3 separate regions of the Homo sapiens genome follow, and regions 1 and 3 are each linked to region 2. The links are contacts of gene promoters, found by promoter capture Hi-C in human tissues and cell types (Jung and others, 2019). All regions are on one chromosome and are shown on one strand. The core of a region is centred on a gene start or on the middle of the fragment in contact, and the rest is flanking DNA. Distances in the headings are between cores, read along the strand shown.

Evidence for each region. The method cuts DNA at HindIII sites, captures the fragments that hold promoters and counts their contacts. A contact is called where the count stands out against the background at its distance.
Region 1: a contact is called between a fragment that was not itself captured here and the fragment with the promoter of ZNF442 in region 2, in 2 of the 25 tissues and cell types used here (mesenchymal stem cells and small bowel).
Region 3: a contact is called between a fragment that was not itself captured here and the fragment with the promoter of ZNF442 in region 2, in 6 of the 25 tissues and cell types used here (H1 embryonic stem cells, aorta, liver and 3 more).

What each region holds. Positions count from the first base shown.
Region 1 is chr19:12,424,580-12,428,102 of GRCh38, reverse strand. No RefSeq gene overlaps it. Among named protein-coding and RNA genes, the nearest start is that of ZNF443, 15 kb to the left of the region's middle. The HindIII fragment of the contact is 8,163 bases long and covers 1-3,523 here.
Region 2 is chr19:12,363,261-12,366,938 of GRCh38, reverse strand. It overlaps ZNF442 (zinc finger protein 442), which reads left to right and starts at 1,256. Exons shown (of 6, transcript NM_030824.3): 1 at 1,256-1,406; 2 at 1,696-2,137; 3 at 3,268-3,385. The coding sequence starts at 3,308. RefSeq lists an enhancer at 1,343-1,442 and a silencer at 1,543-1,722. The HindIII fragment of the contact is 16,775 bases long and covers 251-3,678 here.
Region 3 is chr19:12,314,035-12,317,695 of GRCh38, reverse strand. It overlaps ZNF563 (zinc finger protein 563), which reads left to right. Exons shown (of 4, transcript NM_145276.3): 4 at 1-219. Among named protein-coding and RNA genes, the nearest start is that of ZNF563, 18 kb to the left of the region's middle. The HindIII fragment of the contact is 6,161 bases long and covers 1-3,661 here.

The DNA.
Region 1 (3,523 bases), core at 826-3,325, 60 kb before region 2:
GAATGCTGTTGTTTCCCTGGCATCAGCCGATGCCAATTCTCCTGTGGTCTTCAAGTTCTTGGGCTGCACTGTGTTGCATAGTTAGCCTAGCCAGAACTTACTGGCTTCAAACTCCTTCCTCTTGCTCTCCTCAGCCCCCTCACAGTGATGCTTACAGAGGCTAAGTGTTTTTTGTTTTCTTTTCTTTCTTTCCTTCTTTTTTTTTTTTCTTTTTTTTGAGACGGAGTGTTGCTCTGTCGCCCAGGCTGGAGTACAGTGGCGTGATCTTGGCTCACTGCAACCCCCACCTCCCGGGTTCAAGTGATTCTCCTGCCTCAGCCTTCTGAGTAGCTGGGATTACATGTGCGCGCCACCACACCCAGCTGTCTTTTGAGTAGAGACTGGGTTTCACCATGTTGGTCAGGCTGATCTCGAACTCCTGACCTTGTGATCCACCCGCCTTGGCCTCCCAAAGTGCTGGGATTACAGGAGTGAGCCACTGCGCTTGGCCTGGCTAAGTGTTTTTTCAAGTATGATGTTACCATCAGTAGGGCTGTGGTTCTGTGACGTGTCCTCTAGCCACACACTTAATGCTTATCCTTAGTTTATCATGAACTAGAGGGATCATTTTTGCCACTGTAGGGGCAGCTCTAACACTTTGAGGAACTTCAGCTTCTCTCTGCTTTAGTGTGTGATTTCTTGGTTTGTTCTTACCTTATGACGAACTTTCCAAGGTGATACACCACTTTTCAAAACATCTTAGGTTTGTATTTTCTTATTGAGAGATACCACTTTTTGTCCCCTGCTAGCCTTTTAGGGATAGGTTTGACCACTTGATTCCTTCTTAGGAGCCATTTTTTAACATTTTTTATTTTTTTATATATGACATCTCAAGGGTCTCTGAATGAACAAAACAGTCTTCAAAAGCCAGAACAATGGCCAGATGTGGTGGCTCACATCTGTAATCCCACCGCTTTGGGAGGCTGAGGCAGGTGGATCATGAGGTCAGGAGTTGGAGACTAGCCTGACCAACATGGTGAAATCGCATCTCTACTAAAAATACAAAAATTAGTCGGGCATGGTGGCGCGTACCTGTAATCCCAGCTACTCAGGAGGCTGAGGCAGGGGAATCACTTGAGCCTGAGAGGTGGAGGTTGCAGTGAGCTGAGATCATGCCACTGCACTCCAGCCTGGGCAACAGGGCGAGACTCTGTCTCAAAAAAAAAAAAAAAAAAAGCCAGAACAAAGTTGGTGAACTCACACTTCCTGATTTCAAAACTTATTACAAATCCATACTAATAAAAACTGTTTGGTACTAGCGTAATAACGCAGAAATAGACAATGCAACAAGATAACACAGAAAGTCTAATAAAGTCTAATAATTTACATAAAGTCTAACAATTACTGAAAAGTCTGCTGTGACTATTCAATGGGGGATAGCTTAATGTTTCTGTAGAATGATGCTGTTGGGCAATGCACATCCACATGCAACAGGATGACGTTGTACCCATACCTAACATGTACAGAAGTTAAAATGAACGAAATATGTGAGTGTCCATCTTAGCTGTATAACTGTTAGATGAAAATACATGGCAAAAGCTGTATTACAGTGAATTTGGCAATGATTTCCTAGATTTGGCACCAAAAGCATGACCCACAAGGGAAAGAATAATTTGGATTTTGTGGACCTTTGGCATCAAAAGGCAATATTAACAGAGTAAATGGGTAACCCATAGAATGGGAGAAACCATTTCCAAATTATATATCTGATAAGGGATTAACATGAAGAGTATTTAGAAAATGATAAAAAGCTACTAATCACTTGTTATGGAATAAATGTTTGTAGAAAATTTTATTTATTTTTCCACTTCCCTGATGTGGCAGTATTAGGCAATGGTTTCTTTGAGATATGATAAGGATTAGGTTAGATTATGAGAGTGGATCCTCAAAAATGAAAGTGGAATGTGCATGGTCGCTCATGCCTGTTATGGCAGTACTTTGAATGGCCAAGATGGGAGGATCGCTTGAGGCTTGGATTTTCCCCCTTCCCCTTCCTCTTCCTTTTCCCCTTCCCCTTCTCCTTCCCCTTTCCCTTCCCTTCTCTTCTCTTCTTCCTCCCCTCCCCTCCTCTCCTTTCCCTTCCTTCCTGGAAATGGGGATCTCAATTTGTTGCCCAGGCTGGAGTGCAGTGGCGTGATTATAGCTCATTGCCACCTCCGACTCCTAAGCTCAACAGATCCTCCTGCCTCAGGCCTCCCAAGTAGCTGGGACTTCAGGTGTGTGCCACCATGCCCAACCGAGGCCTGGAGTTCAAGACCAGTCTGGGCAACATGGTGAGACCTCATCCTTACAAAAAAAGAAAAAAGGAAAATTTAGCTAGGCTTGGTGGTATATGCCTGTAGTCATAGCTACCAGGGAGGCTGAGGTCACCAGATCACTTGAGCCCAGGAGTTCAAGGCTGCAGTAAGCTAGGTCATGCTACTGCACTCCAGCCTGGGCTGGAGAGAGAGTGAGACCCTGTTTCTGAAACAAACTAAAATATATGTAAAAAGAGAATTGAGGTTAATGTTATTACACAATGGAGAAAAGTTGATTTCTTCTTATAAAGTGGCAGAGAACTTTGTGTATCGTGGTCCTGTGCTAGTTTTGTGGAAAGTAGAACTAGGAAGTGATGAAATTGGATATTGAGTTGACAACATTTCTAAGAAGTGTTGAAAAAGGCAGCTTGGTTCCTCTTGACTGCATATACTAATGTGAGGAAAGACTTGACTGGAGATGGAATTATTAAGATGGAACTGAAACAAAAAGATTTGGAAAATTCCCAGTCTATCCATATTACCAAGATGAAAAATCATCTTGGGAAGAGAAAACTCTAAGGGTGTGTCCAAGGACCATTTGATAGGAATAGTAGTTTAGAGGACTTACTCAGCCACCCCAGTAGTAAGACAGCCAGTTTGGTTTTTGTTTGTTTGGTTTTTGTTTTGTTTTCCTTTGTTTTTGAGATGGAATCTCATTGTCTCACCCAGGCTGGAGTACAATGGCATGATCTCGTGGCTCACTGCTTTCTCCACCTCCCGGGTTCAAGTGATTCCCCTGCCTCAGCGTCCCGAGTAGCTGGGATTACAGGTGCCCGCCACCACGCCCAGCTAATTTTTGTATGTTTAGTAGAGATGGGATCTTACCATGTTTGTCAGGCTGGTCTCGAACTCCTGACTTCAGGTGATCTGCCTGCTTCGACCTCCCAAACTGCTGGGATTACAGGCATGAGCCACCGCACCTGGCCTGTTTTTCTTTTTTTACGGATTCAGTGATCTGGACGGGCACATACTACCATGCCATTTTAATTTTTTTGTAGAGATGGAGTCTTGCCGTGTTGCTCAAGCTGGTCTTGAACTTCTGGACTCAAGCAATTCTCCCGCCTCGGCGTCACAAAGTGTCGCAATTACAGGCATGAGCCACTGCACCCAGCTGGACCTTTATTTTTTTGAGACGGAATCTCACTCTGTCGCCGAGGCTGGAGTGCAGTGACACGATCTTGGCTCAC
Region 2 (3,678 bases), core at 7-2,506:
CACAGGCCAGGCGTGGTGGCTCACGCCTGTAATCCTAACACTTTGGGAGGCCGAGGCCGGCGGATTGCCTGAGCTCAGGAGTTCACGACCAGCCTGGGCAACATGGTGAAACCCTGTCTCTACTAAAATACAAAAAAATTAGCTGGGCATGGCAGCGTGCACCTGTAGTCCAGTGTGCTACTCGGGAGGCTGAGGCAGGAGAATTGCTTCAACTTGGGAGGCGGAGGTTGCAGTGAGCCAAGATTGAGCCACTACAGTCTGTCCTGGGTGACAGAGTGAGACTCCGTCTCCAAAAAAATAAAATAAAAATAAATGTGCATAAGGCATGGCAGTGTAGTATGGGAAAGGAAAGGGAGTGGAAGTTCACAGCACATTCTGAGGCTGTATTTTAAGATGAGAGGTAACATCTATGCAGTTTATCTCGAAGTTATTATCTTGAGATCAGGAGGGGAAAGAGGAAAAGGGAAAGAAGAAGAAAAAAAAGGTTTAAAACGTGGTTTGAGACTCAGCTGCTAAGCTGCTGGTTACACACTCTGGGACTCAACTTCAGGAGTCAGAATCTGCCTTCTAAGCTTGAAAATATGTTTAACCTCCTGAAAGGGGGTTTCCTGCTGAACTGTGGCTGAAATTTCTCTGAACTAATTCAGGTTTTTTCTTTTCCCTTCTTTTGATTCCTTTATAGAAGATTACTGCCATATAATTCCAGATTTTCCATGCATTTAACAATTTTATTTCATTGTTGATGTGTTTTTATTTTCTGGTCTGAGAATGAGTAGATTGGGAGATAAGGTGGGAGAAAGGCTTGACCATGGAGCCAGCAGTCTCATCCTAAATTCCTGATCCCTGGAGGACACCAGGCCTTCCCTCCTGCTTCAGTGTGGTTTGTGTGGCCTGGGCCTCCCCTACCGCTCTGAGGCCAGGGGATGGCTCCACTGGGCAGTGAGTCTCGAATTCCCAGCACACACTTGTGGGTCCCCGTCCAGGAAGAAGGAGCAGGAAGAGCCCATTGAGTACAGGCAGGAAATTCCGCTTAAATGCAAATGTCCCCTGGGAGGGGTCAGGTCACAGCGAAGGGAGGAAGCCCACCCTATCAAGGGCTGTGTCTGGAACCGCTTCATCTCGCTCCACTCAGCCGTGTAAGATCCTTCTTCTGTCAATCAGTTCCCTGGGGGGGCGGAATTTGGAGCTCTACCCAATCAGTGTTGGGGGCGAGTTCTTGGGAACTGCCAGTCAGGCGCGCTGCCGGGAGGAGGGTGGAGCTTTCTACACCCCTCTGAGCTCCCGCTCCTGGCTCTGTAGCTGAGAGAAGCCCTGGCAGGTCAGTGGCAGGCACTGTCACGCTGAGTCCTATGCTGGCAGCGGGGAACCTTGGGGAGAACACGGGACACCGCGGAAGCCGGGAAATGGTGAGTGTGCGGGGCCCGGCGTCCTGGGGCAGGGCGAAGGACTGGTTGGAACCGGCCAGAACCGGCTGTGGCGGGACCCGGGCGTCCCCGCGGCGACTGCGGGGTCTGTGGACCCGAGTTCCCCTGGCCCAGCCGGCCTTCAGTCCCCTCGGCCGCGGGGTGGGAGCTGGGGGCTGGGCCGGCAGCCGGGACCCCGGGCGTCCTGTCCCGTTTCTGCGCAGCAACTGCGGCCCCGGCTCCCGCGCCCTCTCTGGGGCAGCTCCATGCCCACAGCTCCGCGTCTTCCCAGATTGTGCGGCTGTAACCGGCACAGGTTCGCGGTCCGAGTCACTGCACCGAGACTCCAAGGCCTGCAGCAGAAACAGTTTAATAGGGGGAGAGGAGAGAAGACCCCAGTTCCGCCTCCATGAGAGGTTTGGGGATGGGGGTGTTTAGGGGTCTGGACAGGGGCGGCTGAAGTGTGGGGTCGCTGGTTGGTGGGGAAGTGACAGGCGAATCCTGGGACGGGAGGTGAAGAAACCGCATTCTCCTGCTGAGTGGGTTCCCTCGTGGGGTTTTCACCCTGCTTGGCGCCAGCCTTTCCGTTGGAATTCAAGATCTGAGAAAGAACTTGGGCAACTCGAGCAGCTCTCCGAGATCTTATCCCCAGGCACAATGCAGAAGCCGGCGGTCAGTGTCTTCTGTGACCTGACTCTCAGGAAGGCGGCCCCCGCGAGGCAGTGGGGCTCAGGGTACCTGGTTAATATCTAACTGCAATCAGAATCCAGATTCTTGCGTGGGGTTTGTGCACGGGAGGAGCTGTGGTCTGCGGGGTCCCCAGTCCCTTCTTTTCTTCCCAGGGTGACTGATTCCTCTTCGAGTTTTTCAGAGATGGGGGTAGCAGGGTCTCAAATCCACTACCCTGTTCCCTCATTCTAACTCCTCCTAGGGGTGGTAGTAACTCCCTTGGTTTCCAGAGCCTTACGCAGGCTAACTTTCCCTCCTCAGTTCACAGCAACATCATGAACTCCTCCCTCCTCCGCCCCACCCGTGCTAAATTTCAGAGTCCCAGTATTTTAATTTTCATTTTGTTTTCAGAGAGCAATGGATGGCTTCTTTTTTTCTTTCTTTCTTTTTTTTTTTTTTGAGATGGAGTTGTGCTCTTGTTGCCCAGGCTGGAGTGCAATGGTGCGATGTCGGCTCACCGCAACCTCCGCCTCCCGGGTTCAAGAAATTCTCCTGTCTCACCCTCCCGAGTAGCTGGAATTACAGGCACCCACCACCACACCCGGCTAATTTTTTGTATTTTTAGTAGCGACGGGGTTTCACCATGTTGGCCAAGCTCATCTCGAACTCATGACCTCAGGTGATCCGCCCGCCTCGGCCTCCCAAAGTGCTGGGATTACAGGCGTGACCACCGCGCCCGGCCGGCTTCTTAAAAGATTTGTGTTCCTGAACATTTCACATGTGAGGAAGCAGAGAATAACCTGACACTGCACTGTAAAAAACAAAAAAACAAACAAAAAAACCTTTGTGTCTCTCCTTTTCTTTCCCCTGGGTACGGATACCTAATCAACATTGAAAGTCCCCTTTAGAAACTTTATGGGGTGATGTGTTCTCAGCCCACTCTCTGCCTTTTCCTGGTTCTGTTTCAGAACTGCCTGGGGTTGACCCAAGATACACACAGCTGCCCTGTCTCTGGGAGGGTCCAGTGAATATCAGTCCCTGGGTCATTTCTCCCAGTGAGCAGCCTGAGGTGTTGGGGTGGGGCCTCACAGAGAACAGCTGGATGCCCTGGGTGGGATGGGAGGAATATTCTGGTATACCATTTCTATAAAAAGCTAACCCTTGGGACAATCACCTTGTTCTTCCCCAACCCCAGTTTCCATTCCTTGGGGACACACGGCTGGTCAGCCAGTTGAATGATTGTATTTGGGGGAGAAGACAGAAGTGATCTCTTCCTTCCTGACTCTCAGACTAATGAAGAGAGAAAACAATATGTAAGCACTGGAGAACCCACTCATTCCAGTTGTGCAAGAACCTCCCATTCAGGTCAGGTGTGCATGAGCCTGAAAAGCACACAGTGAAGTATCTCCTGGGGTGGTGGTGGGTGGTCACTGAGCACTTTACTGAGCAGATGGGGGTGACTAATGTCCCAGGAGATGGGATGACCTGACACCTGAGTTAGACTTGTTTGTGTTCGAGTCAGTGCTGCCCATCCCTGAGGTTGTCACATTGAAAAGAGATACTCACTCTTTTCAGCTTCAACGTTTTATTAACTATAAGATTAGAG
Region 3 (3,661 bases), core at 294-2,793, 50 kb after region 2:
CACATGCCAAGTCCTTTTTTAAAAATGACATATTTGGTACAAAATTACCCGGATGTGATGGCACATGCCTGTAATCCCAGCTACTCAGGAGGCTGAGGCAGGATAATCACTTGAATCCGGGAGGCGGAGGTTGCGGTGAGCCAAGATCGCGCCACTGCACTCCAGCCTGGGCAGCAAGAGCAAAACAACCTCTGTCACACACACAAAAAAAAAAAAAAAGGAAAGAAAGAAAAGACATATTTGGGTTAGACACAGTTGCTCACCTCTGTAATCCTAGCACCTTAGGAGCCCAAGACAGGTGGATCACTTGAGCCCAGGAGTTAGAGGCCAGCCTGGGTAATGTGGCAAAACCCTGTCTCTACAGAAGATACACAAATTAGCCAGGTGTGGTGACATGTACCTGTAGTCCCAGCTACTAGGGAAGCTGAGGTGGGAGGATCGCTTGAGCCTGGGAGGTTGAGGTTGCGGTGAGTCAAAATCACATCACTGCATTCTAGCATGGGCAACAGAATGAGACCCTGTCTCAAAAAAATAATAACAATAAAAAATATTTGCATGTAACCTACCCACATCCTCCTGTATACTCTAAATCATCTGTAGATTAGTTAAAATACATCATGCATCATAGAAGCTATGTAAATAGTTGTTATTATATTGTTTAGTGAATCATGATATGAGAAAGACCCTACACATATTCAGTACAGACCCACCCACATAATACATGTCACCTAGAGCATTATAAATCTTTTCTTTCAACACTCATAGATTGCTTTTGTTTAATGACCTGAAAATGTGTTAACATTCACCCAACAAAAGTGTAATGATGATTATTGCAATATCGTGCCTAATGTTGTGATGTGTTGAGTCAGCTAGATGTGTGACACCACAGATAAGCAGTGAGACCTCAGGCTAACTCGAATCTTGACAGGATGTCAACATGATCAACTATATTGGAAGAAACAGATTCTGACTGCAGATACTGAATTTTTGGAGCAGTCTAAATAATACTAATGTCAGAATCTGTTCAATTTGAGGACTGAAGATCTTTAAGCATTGAAGGCTGTCTTCATATTTGCAGATATTTAATTAGAAACATTGTAGGAAGCTAGTTTTTTTTTTTTTAAACTTTGCAACGTTTGTGAGCATGTAATCTCTGGGGTGACATGGAGGCTTTGTTCCATGGAAGAATCTTAATTGAGGATGATAATCTTTAACACTTGCGCCTTGTAGAAGCTGTAGGTGCCCTAAAACTGCTTCCAATTTTTCTTTTTTTTTCTTTTTCTTTTCTTTTTTTTTTTTTTTAAGACAAGATCTCACTCTGTCACCCTACAGTGCATGGCTCACTGCAGCCTCAACTTCCTGGGCTCAAGTGATCTTCCCACCTCAGCCTCCCAAGTAGCTGGGATTATAGGCACACATCACGATGCCTGGCTACTTTTTGTGTTTTTTGTGGAGACAAGGTTTCACCATGTTTCCCAGGCTGGTCTTGAACTCCTGGAATCAAGAGATCTGCCTGCCTTGGCCTCCCAAATTACTAGGATTACAGGGTGAGCCACCACACCCAGCCTTCAGATTTTTCAAGTATCAAAATCTATAGCACTGCTTCTTTTTTTTTTTTTCAGACAGAGTCTCACTCTGTCGCTGAGGCTGAAGTGCAGTGGTGCAATCTCAGCTCACTGCAGCCTCCACCTCCCAGGTTCAAGTGATCCTCCTGCATCAGCCACCTGAGGAGCTGGGATTACAATCTCAGCTCACTGCAACCTCCACCTCCCAAGTTCAAGTGATCCTCCTGCCTCAGCCACCCAAGTAGCTGGGAATACAGGCATGCACCACCATGCCCAGCTAATTTTTGTATTTTTAGTAGAGACAGGGTTTCGCCATGTTTGCCAAGCTGGTTTTGAACTCCCTGTGACTTCAAGTGATCTGCCTGCCTTGGCCTCTCAGAATGCTGGGATTACAGGCATGAGCCACCACTTATGGCACTGCCTCTTTATTTATTTATTGAGACTGAGTCTCACTCTGTCACCCAGGCTGGAGTGCAGTGGCACGATCTCGGCTCACTGCAAACACTGCCTCCTGGGTTCAAGCGATTCTCATGCCTCAGCCTCCCAAGTAGCTGGGATTACAGGTGCCCGCCACCACACCCAGCTAATTTTTGTATTTTTAGTAGAGACGGGGTTTCACCATGTTGGCCAGGCTGGTCTTAAACTCGTGACCTCAGGTGATTCACCCGCTTCGGCCTCCCAAACTGTTGGGATTACAGGCGTGAGCCACCACGCCTGGCGGCACTGCCTCTTCTAAATCTACATCATCATCATCATCATCTATAGAGGATTTCAGCATATCTTCTAGTTCCTTGTTAGTAAAGGTTTCTTCTTTGCTCTTCTGTGTGTTCCTCAACATTGTCTTCACTTGTGTCAGAGATAGCCTTCCCCACCAACTTTCCTTACATTTAAGATATTTCTGACTATCATATCGATAGTGCAGAAGCGCCTGAAATCATTGACTTCCTCACTCCATAATGGCTTCCAACACACTTTGGCTGTCTTGAGCTGTAGGGCATTTACAGCCTCCGCAATAAACACAATCGTTTCTGCAGTTGGGAAGCTCTTCCATAAATCCTGTATGACATGGTGAGGGTTATTATCAAGACAGCATAAATCCTTCCAAAAGTCCAGTGGGTGTAAGACACCTTGAGGCACTTGATGATGCTTTGATCAAGTAGTTGTAGCAGTGATGTAGTTTTAGGAGGCAGGAACATCACTTCCCCATTTTTATCGGCATAACAGAGAGAAGAGAGATGCCAGGAGCGTTGTCAGTTATGAGGAGGGCCTTGAGTGGCAGCCCCTTCTTTTCAAGGTATTCATTCACATCAGGAATGAAGCAGTGGTAGAACCAAGTCCTCGTGTGTTTTTGTCAGGACACGGGCAGGCAAGTTTCGCTTTTGTTTTCAAGGACCCACGGATTGTTTACTTAGTAGAGGAGGCTTTGTTTGATCTTATGACCTGCTGCATTGCCACGTAGCACCAGAGTAAGGCAATCTTTCCAAGTCATGAACCCCAAGGCTTTCTTTGTACTCTTGTGATGAAGGTACAATTGGGCATCCTCTTCCAGAACATGCCTGATTCATTACAATGGAGGATTTGCTCTGGAAGTTAGCCTCTTTTTTTTTTTTTTTTTTAATGAGTTTCATGAGCTTTTCTAGGAATGCTGATGTTTCCTTTGCATCAGCCAAGGCCAATTCTCCCATGTTCTTCAAGTTCTTGAAGCTCTAATGCATTGTGTAGCTAGCTAAGCCAGACCTTGCTGGCCTGAAACTCCTTCCTGTAGATCTTTTTTTTTTTTTTTGAGATGGAGTTTTGCTCTTGTTGCCCAGGCTGGAGTGCAATGGCGCTATCTTGGCTCACCACAATCTCTGCCTCCCAGGTTCAAGTGATTTCTTCTTCCTCAGCCTCCTGAGTAGCTGGGATTACAGGCATGTGCCACCACACCCAGCTAATTTTGTATTTTTAGTAGAGACAGGGTTTCTCCATATTGGTCAGGTTGGTCTCGAACCCCGTGATCCTCCCGCCTTGGCCTCCCAAAGTGCTGGGATTACAGGTGTGAGTCACCGTGCCCAGCCAAGGTAAATTCTATCTTATGTGAATTTTGGCACCATGAG